2 separate regions of the Homo sapiens genome follow, and region 2 is linked to region 1. The links are contacts of gene promoters, found by promoter capture Hi-C in human tissues and cell types (Jung and others, 2019). All regions are on one chromosome and are shown on one strand. Each heading gives the region's core, a stretch centred on a gene start or on the middle of the fragment in contact. The rest is flanking DNA. Distances are from core to core; before and after follow the strand shown. Region 1 holds the start of SPOCK3 (SPARC (osteonectin), cwcv and kazal like domains proteoglycan 3). Region 2 overlaps SPOCK3 (SPARC (osteonectin), cwcv and kazal like domains proteoglycan 3).

Evidence for each region. The method cuts DNA at HindIII sites, captures the fragments that hold promoters and counts their contacts. A contact is called where the count stands out against the background at its distance.
Region 2: a contact is called between a fragment that was not itself captured here and the fragment with the promoter of SPOCK3 in region 1, in 2 of the 25 tissues and cell types used here (hippocampus and thymus).

What each region holds. Positions count from the first base shown.
Region 1 is chr4:167,229,209-167,236,033 of GRCh38, forward strand. It overlaps SPOCK3 (SPARC (osteonectin), cwcv and kazal like domains proteoglycan 3), which reads right to left and starts at 5,286. Exons shown (of 11, transcript NM_001040159.2): 1 at 5,242-5,286; 2 at 4,777-4,965. The coding sequence starts at 4,965. The HindIII fragment of the contact is 6,194 bases long and covers 3,280-6,825 here.
Region 2 is chr4:167,124,592-167,131,689 of GRCh38, forward strand. All of the region lies in intron 2 of SPOCK3 (SPARC (osteonectin), cwcv and kazal like domains proteoglycan 3), which reads right to left. Among named protein-coding and RNA genes, the nearest start is that of SPOCK3, 110 kb to the right of the region's middle. The HindIII fragment of the contact is 3,906 bases long and covers 2,264-6,169 here.

The DNA.
Region 1 (6,825 bases), core at 4,036-6,535:
AAATTACAAATAAATCTTTAATTTTATTTTTGATACATATTGTTGAAAAGTATAATAGCACAACTTTGTTGCCAGAAAGGAGGATCCCTCAATGCTAAGAGTATGCCTGTAACTCAAGAAATATAATCAAGGCACATCATAAACCTAAACAAAGTACTGAGAGAGCATTCCTTAAAGATTCTCATTGTTTGAATTTTAATGGCCTGTAGAGCCATAGAATACTTTATTTGGAGTAGACATAGAAACAAATTGTTGTATTTACTTTCTAACAACAGTAGAAGTTGATAGACCCTCGAGAATCTTTACCCCTCTGTAGCCCACTAAGTTCCAGGAAATATCCCACACCATCATCCATTATCTCTTAAATAATCTGTGCACTTAAGAACCTCACCTTAGATGAAAAAGGCAAATAAAAAGAAAAAACAAATTAAGAATGTTCTGCTTACTATTCAACACCCACAAATCAGATATTTTTTAAAAGTCAACTTATAATTTGAGTGCCTCTGAGACATGTCAGCCTGTATTTTACATTTTCTCAATATTCTACATGTTCTTTAGCTTACATTAAGGTTAAATCTGTAAAGTTAAACTGTAGAACTTTATTATTACGTTAAATATACCCAAAGGATATTAAACATCACTTAAGGAATAAATGTAAACTGAAGTTGATTATGGTTTCTATAACACTAGTGGTCACCATTCCTTAAAACAAAAAGTTCAGAATGAGCCCCAGGTATTTTTATTGAAAAACAAATTTAATTTAATCTAGAACTATTTGAATTTCCATTAAAGGGTACAATCCTGTTTTTATTATATGAGTTACTTAAAAATTAGCATGGCCATCATTCCTCTTTTTTCTAAGTTTTTATTATATTGATTCCAAAATACAATATTTGAGGGCTTCTCATATTTTATCTTTTTTTGTCATTCCTAATTAATTTATGTATTTCAGTGAAATCAATAATAGATAATTTTGATAATGTTATTATACCATGCATTACTAAGTAATTCATTGGTTCCAAATTCCATACTCATTTATTACATGATAAAGGGTATGGTTTAATTAAACTATAAAATATAAATATTTGAAATATGCAATACATAAGCCACTCGAGCTAATAATTCAGTTTCCTCATAACGATGCTGATTTCCAATTCTCCTAATATATTCACAAGAATGGGATGAATGAATCCTTTACTCCTGCTCTGGGAGAAAGTAATGGTACCCCACAATTTTCCCACTGAGGAATCTTGTGTACTTAATTTTATCACTAGTCAACAGAGCCCCCCACCAAAAAAAAAAAAAAAAAAAACCAGCATGTAACCAGTATATCTACTGAATATATACCACTGTTGAGGGAGTTCTTATTTTATTTTATTTCAAAATCACATAATTATAACCTAAGTAAAGCATGCTGGTTCTATCTACTGTACTTATGTTTAAATGTGTTGACTTTTCTGTATCTTTAGATTAAGTGAAACTTGTATGCTTTCCTAAGACATAGATATTAAAATCCTTATCAGAATTTTTATACTAATAACCAAATAAATTAATAATTTTCAAAACAGTGAAAGCTCTTTATGTCTATAACATTAAGCATCGTACACTCCAAGCGTCCTTCAAAAGGACAACAAAGGTAACAAACTTTATTCAACAGACATTGCTAGCATAGAGCAGTCAAAAATACTTGAGGTTTCTCCTGTGTTAACACCTACTCATTGCAAGCTTGTTTCTCCTGTGTTAATACCTATTCACTGTAAGCTTGTCTTTGCTTTCATTGCTTCTTTAGCATTTATATTGAGGAAATCAAGAAAATGAGCCTCAACGGCAGTAGTTTTTATGCTCACCTACTCTCTCGTAACTCTATCCATGCTCTTTGTTCCTAAAGCTTTATTGTAAATCAATTATATTTACATACGTATATTACAAATATATAAAGAGTAACATTTATTTTTAAAATTATTCAATTAAAATATAATGCTAAATTGTATTTTTAAATATTATTTAAGATACTTTTAAAATGTATTTCAAAAGAAAGAACAGTTCAAACTTTCATTAAGGAGTCACTTGTTAAACAGTGCTGATTATGTAAAACAGTCACTTCGGAAGAAAAAATAATCATAAGGATTAATCCAAGCAATAATTATGCTGATGCTTTCCAAGGCTTTTGTATAAATAAAATTAATTATATTTTATGGGAAAAAAGCACAAAAGTACTTCAGTTAAATTGTTTCTCAAATAAGAGGTTCAGAATTCCATGTTTCTTTGCCCTCATATAAAGTGAGTACATAAATCATTATTTGAGATATGAATGCTCATGCAGAACATTTAAAGGTAGATTCATGCAGTATAGTATTATTTCAAGTAATGCCTTATCGCCATGTGCTTCCAGCTGAAAACCAACTGAAAAATAACATCCTGAGAGCTACAGAAAAGATTATTAAGCTAATGATTCCCCAAAAGGGAAAGAATATACATAAATAGCAGTGGGGTGGATGGTCTAGATAAGGATTATATATTATGCATTCTGAATTATTATTTGAGAAACCACACTGTCAGCATACCTTTCATCATGTTAATAATAAGCAACAGGTGGTTCAAGGGTAAAAAATGATGGCATTTATCCGCTCCATTCCCTCCAGAAGTCATCTTTGCAAAAACATAACTGTCTTACTAAAATGGTAATACTAAAACCTGATGAAAGTTTTTCAAATAAATCAATATTTATTTTTAGGTGTTGCATATACTTCAAAACAGATATTTGCATAAAATGTATCAGTAAATCCTTTTTAAAATTTATGTACAATTTTGATGGACTTTTTCCTTGAGATCCTAGAATAACTGAGAATGATATAGCAATAAAATCTCCATCTCTATAGAAATTGACTCCATAAATTCTAGCATATTTAGCTCTATAGTAGGCAACTCAGCTTGTCTCAATAGTTTAAGTCAAACACATTCACAAACTGTCCAAGTCCCTCAATAATTTAATAAAGTAATTTGAATAAAATAAGAGAATACTAAGTTATTCAAAATTTAAAATACATTTTAGAGAAGAAAGCTTTTATCTCTGCTCTCATTGAAGATAGTAATACTCTTACAATTCTCCCAGCGAGGAATCTTGTGTAGTTGATTTTATTAAAAAAAAAAAAAACCCAAAACAAATAGAAAACAGCATGCAACCAGTATTACCTACTAAATATATCCCATTGTTGGGAGGTCTTTCAAAAATTCATTTCTAGAAGATTTTAAAGCAGCCATTAAATAATGAAATGTCATAATGTCAAACACTGTTCAAATACTGATGAAGTGTTCAATTTTCGTTTTTGTTTTTGATTTTGCCAAATGAGGGCATGATAAACAAATTTTCTTTAGGTTTAGGAATATCTCACTCGCTATCCTTTTTGCTTGTACTCAATATTGGTGTAAACTTAAAACAAATATGCAACGGGTATGCTTTTATAAGGGCATTTATTTAGCAATAAAATGATGCTTAAGCTTTGTTCATGAAGTATGTAGGCAAGGTTCTCCATTAAATATTCTCAATCAAATGGCTAAACCTAATTTTAAAGTAAAAATTTGTGTTTCTTCAGGAATCCCTCTGCTAGATTTGGCTTGTCAGCTACTTCATGGAGAGGCTGAGAGAATGGGTTAGAGGAGGCAGGATGAAAGCTAGCCTAGGCTCCCTTTTATTTTCCTAAATGGTGACTGAGTCGGAGCTGATGAAAGAAGTTAACTCATCTCCACGTAGTGCACTGCAGATGGACTCCACGAGAAATTCTCTCAAATGTCACGGTAAGGATTGGCAATGTGTCTAGGAACCACTCTCGCTCCAGTTCAGGCCTTCCGCGTTTTAAAGGGTGGGCTAGGGGCGGTATTCAGCCAACAGGGCGGCCTCCTCACTGGGACAACCAAATTCAAGGCTTCCAGTTGTATCGTGCTCTGTACGTGAGCAGCTCTTACTGGGCTCCATTCAGATCAGGTGAGGAAAATAAAAATGACTGGCAAGCCATGGCCACTAGCTTCAAGTGTGGAAACCTGGCTCCCTCTTAATAACCCTTTTGAAAACTCCCCAGGGGAGTCTATGGTTTAACTCTTTTATCGCTGTCACCTGCAATCCTCCCGCCCTCGCAACCTCTTCCCGCAGAGTTCAAGGCAGTGATTCATTTTGGAATAAAATATAATCAAATGCATTGCAAAGATGTTCTAGATTAAAGTCATGTCGAAGCACAAATCTGATCGACAATTTTATGTAAGCGGGAGCGTTCAACGAGTCCTTACTGGTGCCGCCAAACATCCTCCCACCCTTGGAGAGCGGGCATTTATAAATCTTACATCTTCCTACCTCCTCCCTCAAATTCCTTAATGGACCATTAGTGACAGGATCGATCCTAGTTACTTTAGTAGCGATACATCGCAAAGGCACATCTGCTGTGTTTACCAGTGCCAGAAACACCATTCAAAAGTTGAGAGGTTAGAGCCAGCACTTTGTAACCTTTGTGGGCCGGGAGGGGGCACAGGGGAGAGCAGGGTGGGGGAGGAAGAGTGTGAACCTGGTGAGACCTGAACTCCTGTGCATCCAAGAAACAAGCCCTTGAACCAGCTGGGAGGGGGCAGCGGAACTGTGAACTTCTCCAGCAGCCCTGCGCCGCCGCGTTTCCCTAAACCCCTCTCCTCAGAAAACGGAGCCCACTCCCCACCCACATCCGGCGGCCGCGGCCCCCGCCTCGGAGCAGCGCGCGCGTGTGCCCGGGGATGTGGGTGCGCGGAACTTACGTCTCGGAATTTGTTCCACTGTCCGACTTCCTTGTCATACTGAGAGATTGTGGTGAGCCATTGTTTATCATCCAGAAAATTACCGCCGTCCGACCGCCCCCCGGCTGCAGCCACCGCCGCGGCAGCTGCGAGAGACTGACTGCACCAAGCGGCTGCACACACACACAGTACGGCTGACACCTTGAGCATCTGGGAGAGGAGACACAACGGGGGGTGGGGGGGCATGTCAGTGTCAAATAAGGGGTACGAAGCCAGGAGCGACCCTGGAAAACATGCATTAGCAACGACGAGGGTAGAGGGAGGAGGAGACAAGCAGAGGCAAGCGTGTCCCCTCCCCGCAGGCTTTACCCCCAAAAGCCGGGCACTCACACACACGCAGACCCAGAGGAGGAGAGGTGGGTATAAGGAAGCAAGCCCCAGCCGCAGCAGCCCGAGCGGGCACAAAACCGCTTCCTGGCACATCACCTTGTTGTGAGCCAGCACTGTGCTCGCAGCTCCTGCTGGAAATGCAGCCCTGCTCTGCCAACTCGCTGCTTTCTGGAGCTGCTGCACGCGCCGCCGTCTCGAGCCGTCCACTCAGCTCCCTGCGCCCGGCGCGCTCCCCCCATCTCCACCCTCCCTTCGCGCGCGGATCTCCAGCTTACTCCCCTCCGTTCCCCCTCCCTCCCCGACCTCCGTTTTTTTCCTCTTCCACCTCCTCCTATCCCACCTTCCTCTCGCTGGATCCCAGCTACAGTTGGCTCCGGATAGGACGCTTGGCTGGAGCCAGAGGACGAGGTAGCTCCTAGCCTAGGAATCCTTATCTGCTTTGTAACCTCTCCCCTCCAGAAGAGGTTCTCATGTTCGCGAGACAGCCTGCTCATTCTCTGCTCCTGGATTTAACACAAAGTGTACTATCTCTCGCAGTTGCCTCTGCTCCACAATTTCCAGGGTTGTCAGGCAGACGTGAGAAACAAGATCTGAGGAAAACTTTATGCATTAATAAATAAGAATACCTGGACTTCCTACCCTGTAAAGCTCCTGAACTCAGCTCCTCCCTAAAGAAAGGCCATCTATCCACAAGGTCTTGGGAGATCTGTTTAATTTCAGAAAATTTAAAGTTTGCTGTGAGCTTCTGGATTACTACCGACAGCAAACTTTCATGTTAAAGGTTGCAGTTTCTTTTTTTCTTTTCCTTTGTGTGTGTGTGTGTGTGTGTGTGTGTGTGTGTGTGTTTTGTTTTGAGAGACAGAAGCATAACGAGGTAGGGCGTTTGAGAACACCTATATCTCCTACATACTGTAGCTGCATTTTTCCCTTTATAAAAACTCCCTGGCAGCTTTATTTTAGAACGTAGAACCTGAATCGGAAACTTTAAAAGCCTACTGTCTCCCTCCTGCAAAATAAGACAGTTTTGAAGCCCGAACACCAATTTTGTATTCCAAACTTCCATTTATGACAAAATATTTGGCTTTCCATGTCGTTTCTACATATTCTAAATAAACTGGAAGGAAATCAGTAATTAGCCCCTTGTAGAGAAAATCTGATACAGAGAATCTCTCATATTTAGAGAATTTAGGTGAAGTGAATATTACACATAAATCAAGAAATGTCTGCAAGCCAATAGACTGCAATAACATTATGAATCTCTATTTGAATTATTAGAGATTTCAGCCAAAACTACATCTCCCAAAGCTACGACCTTTGAACATTTCTTGTAGCCTCCAAAACTTCAGAAGCTATTCGAATAGCAGCAGTACACATTTTCCATATCAATCTCGTCTAACATTTTGCAATCTATATTAACAAAACGACCAAACTCAATGTTTAATGTTAATTTCCTTTTTTAATGTAATATTTCAAAATAAATGTATAATATGTATGGTAGGAAATATAAGTGTAATATTTATATAGGAAAGAAATTTCTATTACTATTTTTAACTCAGAAAAAGATGTTTTTCTCAATTCCCCCCATTTCTACAGTGATGAATGCAATTAGTGGAGAAAAACACGGAACATACTACTGCAATTCATGGGAGCCCTGATTGACACGAACAAATGTCAGAAAAC
Region 2 (7,098 bases), core at 2,967-5,466, 110 kb before region 1:
TTACCATCGTCTCTCATCTAAATGATGCAACAGCTTTCTATTAAGTTTGCCTTATCTTTTTTTTTTCTTGAGACTTTCAGTTGATTTTCTACAAATTAAACTGAATGCCTCTTTTGAAACATAAATTGAATTATGTCATCAGATAGAAGCCCTCAATTGTCTTCACAGTTCCTCTGTGGAATAGCCATAATACTTACCATGACTCTAAATATACGGTCCCTTTATCACACTGACCTCATCTTTTAAAACTGTCTTCTCCTTCACTTACCTCCAATTGTATTCTCCCCTTGCTATAGCACAATAAGGTCTTGCGGTCTTGGCTCTCATTGGGCCTCTGCTTGAATGTCCTCCCTCGGCCCAATATCTGCATGGCTGCTTTCCTTGCTTATTTCAGTGTTTAATTCTAAAGTCACTATCTTAGTGAAGTCTTTTCTTGTCATGCTATCTTAAAGTTTACTTATCACTTAAAATTTAGTTTCGTCCCTTGCTTACTATATTTTTTCCATAGTACTAATTAAGAAATTATATATTTCCATGTATTTATCCTTCTTATGGGGTAGCTCCTCCATTAGAAGGTTCTTTGTATGAGCACAGAGATTTTTTATTTATTTATTTATTTATTTATTTATTTATTTATTTTTATTTATTTTTATTTTTTGGCTGGGGTAGAGGACTGCTGTTCACTCTTGGTAGAATCTAGAAAAGTGCCAGGCATATAGCACTCTGTAAACGTTTATTGAATACCTTGATTAGAGATCTTAACAAGTATATTAGTTAGGACTCAGATTGCTGAAACAAAAGACAAAAATAAAACGGTGCTTAAAAAAAAAAAACACCCCCGGCCGGGCGCGGTGGCTCACGCCTGTAATCCCAGCACTTTGGGAGGCTGAAGCGGGCGGATCATGAGGTCAGGAGATTGAGACCATCCTGGCTAACACGGCGAAACCCTGTCTCTACTAAAAATATAAAAAAATTCGCCGGGCGTGTTGGCGGGCGCCTGTAGTCCCAAGCTACTCGGGAGGCTGAGGGAGGAGAATGGCGTGAACCCGGGAGGCGGAGCTTGCAATGAGCCAAGATCGCGCCACTGGACTCCAGCCCCGGCAGCAGAGGGAGACTCCGTCTCAAAAAAATAAATAAATAAAAATTAAAAACCCTCCATTTCTTTCTTTCATGTAGGAGATCACTCAGAGGATGCAGAAATAGTAGTTCAGTTTGACAGTGTTGGTGACTGATGCTGTTTCTGATTGCTCTATCACCTTCAACATCTTGGCTTCATTTCATGTTCTAAGATGATCCCACAATTATTATTTCCGATTTACAGTTGCAAGGAAGAAAGGAAAAGGGAAATGGAGGGCATGACCTCCTTTCTCTTCAAGAGCACAATCCAGAAGTTACACACTTTATTTTTACTCATATCCTATTGGCAATAACAGGTACAAAATACACCTAACCACAACAGAGGCTTGAAAATATATACTTATTCTAGGTTACTATACACCCAGCTTAAAAAAGAAAAGAGTGAAAATTGTTATTGGATTAAAAGAGGCAACAGTCTGCCCAAACTCTTAACTCCTAACCCTACATCAAGCACAATGTTTGACACCTACGGTAAGGTCAGTCAGTCCACAGTCTGACTGGACAAGTCTGTGAAGACCTCACAATAAGTTCATTGTAGGCCGGGCGCTGTGGCTCACACATGTAATCCCAGCACTTTGGGAGGCCAAGGTGGGTGGATCACCTGAGGTCAGGAGTTCGAGACCAGCCTGGCCAACTTGGCAAAACCCCGTCTCTACTAAAAATACAAAAAAATAGCTGGGCGTGATGGTGCACACCTGAAATCCTGGCTACTTGGGAGGCTGAGGCAGGATAATTGCTTGACCCCAGGAGGCAGAGGTTTCAGTGAGCCGATATCATGCTATTGCACTCTAGCCTGGGCAACAAGAGTCAAACTCTGTCAAAAAAACAAACAAAAAAAGTTCATTGCCAACATATTGATAAGCTTATATACCTATGAATTTCCAACCCCTGCAATACAAAAAAAAAAAATCCTTAAAATAGACAATGGTCTTCTTCTCAGGCCCACTATACCTGAGCTCACCTAAGTGTGCCAGCCTTTTATCCTTACAATCAAGTCCTAATTAGCACACAACTTATCCTTTTAGAAAACCACATACGCAGTAACACCAGCAAAATCTGTTTAATTTTATTTTATCTGTTCCAGGCATTTCAACCCTACTTCAACTTCCATTTCAGCCTCTGGTTCCTCTTCCACCCCTCACTTTTCCCTACTCACAAAATCTCATACTGTTGCTGGTAGAAAACAAAACCAAAGAAACCTGCCCTGTGCCTGGGCCTATGTATTCCCCCTCTCTCTTCTTCTGGCAACTTTACCATCATACTGCAAAGTACAGCCAGGACGTGTCCTGGTGATGAATGGCTCGGACCATTATGGACCAGCAATAGAATAGACAATTGGGTGAGGAGAATTGATTGACTGATTGATTGATATTTTAGAAGGGAAAATTAAGCTTAAAAGGAGATATGTTATAAAGGTTTCCAATAAAGTATTTATGAACAATAGTAGTAAGATTTGACTCAAAATCAAGTATTAGTACTTTATTTTGCCTCATATGTGTCAACAGATACTAATTTGCTTTGACAAATACAGGATACCAAAAACACACACACATACACAATCAAGTCGAACTGATTTCTTCTGTACTTAGTTGTATTGCCAAGACTACTTTCTTATATTACAGAAAAAAACTACTTTTTTATATTACAGAAAAAAAAATAAGCCACCTAAAAGGTTGTTGGGGAAAAGATTGTTGGAAATTTTCTTTTTTTTTTTTTGGAGATGGAGTCTCACTCTGTCGCCCAGGCTGAAGTGCAATGGCATGATCTCGGCTCACTGCAACCTCTGGTTCCCGGGTTCAAGCAATTCTCCTGCCTCAGCCTCCCAGGTAGCTGGGATTACAGGCGCCTGCCACCACGCCCAGCTAATTTTTGTATTTTTAGTAGAGACAGGGTTCCACCGTGTTGGCCAGGCTGGTCTTGAGCTCCTGACCTCAGGAGATCCACTCACCTCGGCCTCCGAAAGTGCTGGGGTTACAGGCGTGAGCCACCATGCACAGCCTGGAAAATTTCTTAATTGGTAACCAATTATTCATTTATAGAAGTGGACAAAAATAGAGTGATGATAAATAGCAAAGATCTGAAAAAGTTGAGAAGAAAATAAATTCTCCTAAACTTCTTCAAACTTTGGTTTCCCATTATAGAAGAGGTATAACGAAATTATCAAAATAAATTACCATACACTTGTGACAACAGTCAGAGGAAGACCTTTGAAACAGCATTAGACGTTTAATAGCTCCCTTGGTGCTCTGGACACTGGGCCTCTCTCACTTCCCAAAAGAACTTGCAGAATCAATTATCACCTTCCTCTCCAATAATTAATTACCTCTTTCCTTCTTGTTCTTCAAACTCTCTCTTTACTAGATCTTTGCTTTCAGCAGATAAAATTGTTCAAGCTTCTTTTCCATGCATAAATTGCAAAATTGTTTAGATAGACCTTCTCACTTTTTCCCCGAATACTCAAGCACATTGAAAAACTCTTTCCTTACACCTCCTCTCATTCATTCCTAAGCCCAAAACCACCTTGCTTCTACCAAGACCACTTCACCAAACTCTTCCCAAAGTTAGTTCTTTTATTGCCAAACAAAGGCTTTTTACCCTTCATCTTACTGGACCTCTCTGTAACATCTAACACTGTAGATCACTTACCTCTCTTCTTAGTTTTCTCCACATGAATTTTGGGTACACCACCATTTATTACTTTGTGCAAAAAAAGTAGTGGTCCTCATCTTCTTCTCAATATTTATCTCCCTGTCTCTTACTTGTGCCTACTGCCCATTCCCGTATAGCATATGGAGGTGTTCATATACTGTGGCCCAGAGAAGACAAACAGTGTTCAACCATTTGGCTTCCCTGGGCCACATCTGAAGAAGAAGAATTGTCTTGGGCCACACATAAAATACACTAACACTAATGATAGCTGATGAGCTAAACAAAAGGTCTGTGCAACATTTTCGTGATACCTGCCACCACAGATAAGCAAAAAAGTTCTCATTCAAAGGGTTGGAAACTAGTATTGCCATTTGTTCTCCTCCTAATCACCCCTCTACATGAAGGAATTTAAAGTCCACTCTGCCTGCTCAGTTTGTCTCTTCTGTTAGGTTTACCAAGAACATCCATTCCCAACAGTCTCCCTCGTGGCCCACCCTGAATGGAGGATTCCAGGGTGATGGATGGGGTTTATTGTATTATTGTGGGCACCTGGGCCATTTCCAAACCCTACCAGACTGTGGAGTGAAATGCATTGATGAGAAATGACCCTGAGAGTGTACTGTGTTCCTGCTCTATACCCTTGATTCAGGGGCTGCTGGCCACTGACAACATCTCCTAAGACAAACACACCAGGAGAGGTACAAGACTGAGAATGACACAGAGTAGTGGTTCTCAACGTACTGCCTTTGAGACATGTAAAAGCATAATCAGCATCACCCACAAAGACTTCAGAAATGCAGATTCTCAAGTCCTGCCCCAGATCTACTGAATAAGTAACTGTGAAGATAGGGCTCAGCAAACTGCATTTTAAGCATCCCATTACATGAATCAGATGGAGGTCCAAGTTTGAGAAATACGGCTGTAGAGTATCAGATACCTGGCTTAAGTGCCAATGTGCTAGCTCTGGACTTACTAAAAACAGCCCTGGGGAATATTACTGGCAACACACTCTTATCTGGTGCCCTGTCTCCAGAATCATCTATTTACTGAGGCAGGCACAGGACACTGGAGTTTCTCCTTGCTAGTGTTCTATTTCATCTGTTTCATCCCATTCTGTTTAGTGCTTGAGCAATCTCTTTCTTGTATACTTTTGGTCTATTCCTTTTGTAATTTCAGACATTCTGTTTCTTTCTTTTTTTTTCAGATATAATATTTCTTCATTTCCTTGTCACTCCAAATACAATGATATTTTTAAAAATATTATAGTTAAAGCACAAACTGCTATGTAGAATCATAAAACATGTAGTCAGCAAATGCACTTAAACCTATGGACTTGAGAATACGTAAATTTAGAAGCTTGTATTTCACAGTGAAAGAACCTAGATAAAAAATAAAATATAAATTTGTCATAATGGAAGGAGAAAAACTGTCAGTTTTGAAACTGCATAAAAGGGTGAGATATATATTATTTAAAGTTGCACTAAAATTTCTTATGCTCAACTTGCACAGTTTTTGATTTAATCTCCACAGTGAAAATCTGGAAGCTATCTTGTCATGAGAGGGTGTTTTGGTGACATCTATATTTAACACTCTAAGGCAAAAACATATTTCCAATTATGTTTTCCAAAAATAAGGTTAATTAAAAAAATTTTTTTTGAGATAGGATCTTGCTCTGTCACCCAGGCTGGAGTGCAGTGGCATAATCATAGCTTACTGCAGCCTTCAATTCCTGGGCTCAAGCCGTCTTCCCCGCTCAGCTTCTCAGTTTTGTAGAGAGAGGTTTTCATTATGTTGCCCAACCTGGTCTCAAACTCCCAGCCTCAAGCAATCCTCCTGCCTCAGCCTCCCAAAACACTGGGATTACAGGCTTGAGCCACTGTACCCAGGCAAATCAAATATTTTAAAAATAATAGATTGTTTTAATTTTTAATTATCAAAGTTAAATATATTTAAATTAGACATAAAAATTTGGAGTTTTTTTATTTACTGGAAAAAAGCATATTTTACATAACTAGTGGGTAATATATGGAATATAAGAATAAGAGGCAAAGTCAATATAGAGAAAACAAAGAAGTCAAGCCATTAGATATAATGCCTAAAAATTTCTGATGGCTCATACTCATTACCCATATTTTAACCTAATATGTCATTTGTGAAAGTTAAAATAAAAAATACTATTTAATTTAGATGTTTTTGTACTTAATATAAACATCTTTCCACCAGCAGTTTGCAACTAAACACATTCATCTGTGTAAAATCAATATAATTATCAAAAAATGGCAGTTAAAAAAAACCCAGTCCAAGTAAGACAGTTAGACATTTACAAGGTATGACTAACAATTTCTCCACTAGAAATGCTACATAAAATCAGTTTTGTCTTACAGTCAATCAGAATATAAGAATTACAAGCAAAGGACTGAATCACAAAATACTGTATTATAAACCATGTCACTAGAAAAATTTAGATTAAAATATGCTTCAAGATACTAAAATATGATCTTTACTTAAAAGATGTCTTAATTCCAGAGGGAAATATTACTAATAAATAGCTTAGAGATGTCATTCATATCTATTTTTGTTAAGCAATTATATTGATGTTAGGTAGAGTTCAAGACTCTAGACCAAATGGTGATCAAAAATTAACAAACCTTAATAGACCTGATATTCTAAATGTATATTAGTTGAATAAATCTAAGGTTCAAGGTTTTTAAAAATATTACTAAATTAATTGTACAAACACACCGAGACATGAACAAGATCTCATGGTGAGTGACATAGCCAGGATTACTTTATTTTCATTGTCCATAGCTAAAGTTTTGCCACTTTCTCTATCACATTAAGAATTAAATTATTAAAAATAAACTTTTTAAAAATGAACTCAACCAAAGATAAAATGTGCTACACTATGACATCAAAAACTAGGAGTAGGACTGGGCATGGTGGCTGACACCTAGAATCCCAGCATTTTGGGAGGCTGAGACGGTGAATCAACTGAGATCAGGAGTTCAAGACCAGCCTGGCCAACATGGTGAAACCCCATCTCTACTAAAAATACAAAAATTAGCTGGGTGTGAAATTAGCTGGCTGTGGTGGCACACACCTGTAATCCCAGCTACTTGGGAGGCTGAGGCAGGAGAATCACTTGAACCTGGGAGGCGGAGATTGCAGTGGGCTGAGATCACGCCATTGCACTCCAGCCTGGGCGACAGAGCAAGACTCCGTCCCCCACAAAAAAAACCAAAACCAAACAACAACAACAAAAACCTGGGAGTATACAGATAACAGTCCTAATCCCTTCACTTCTCTGTTAAC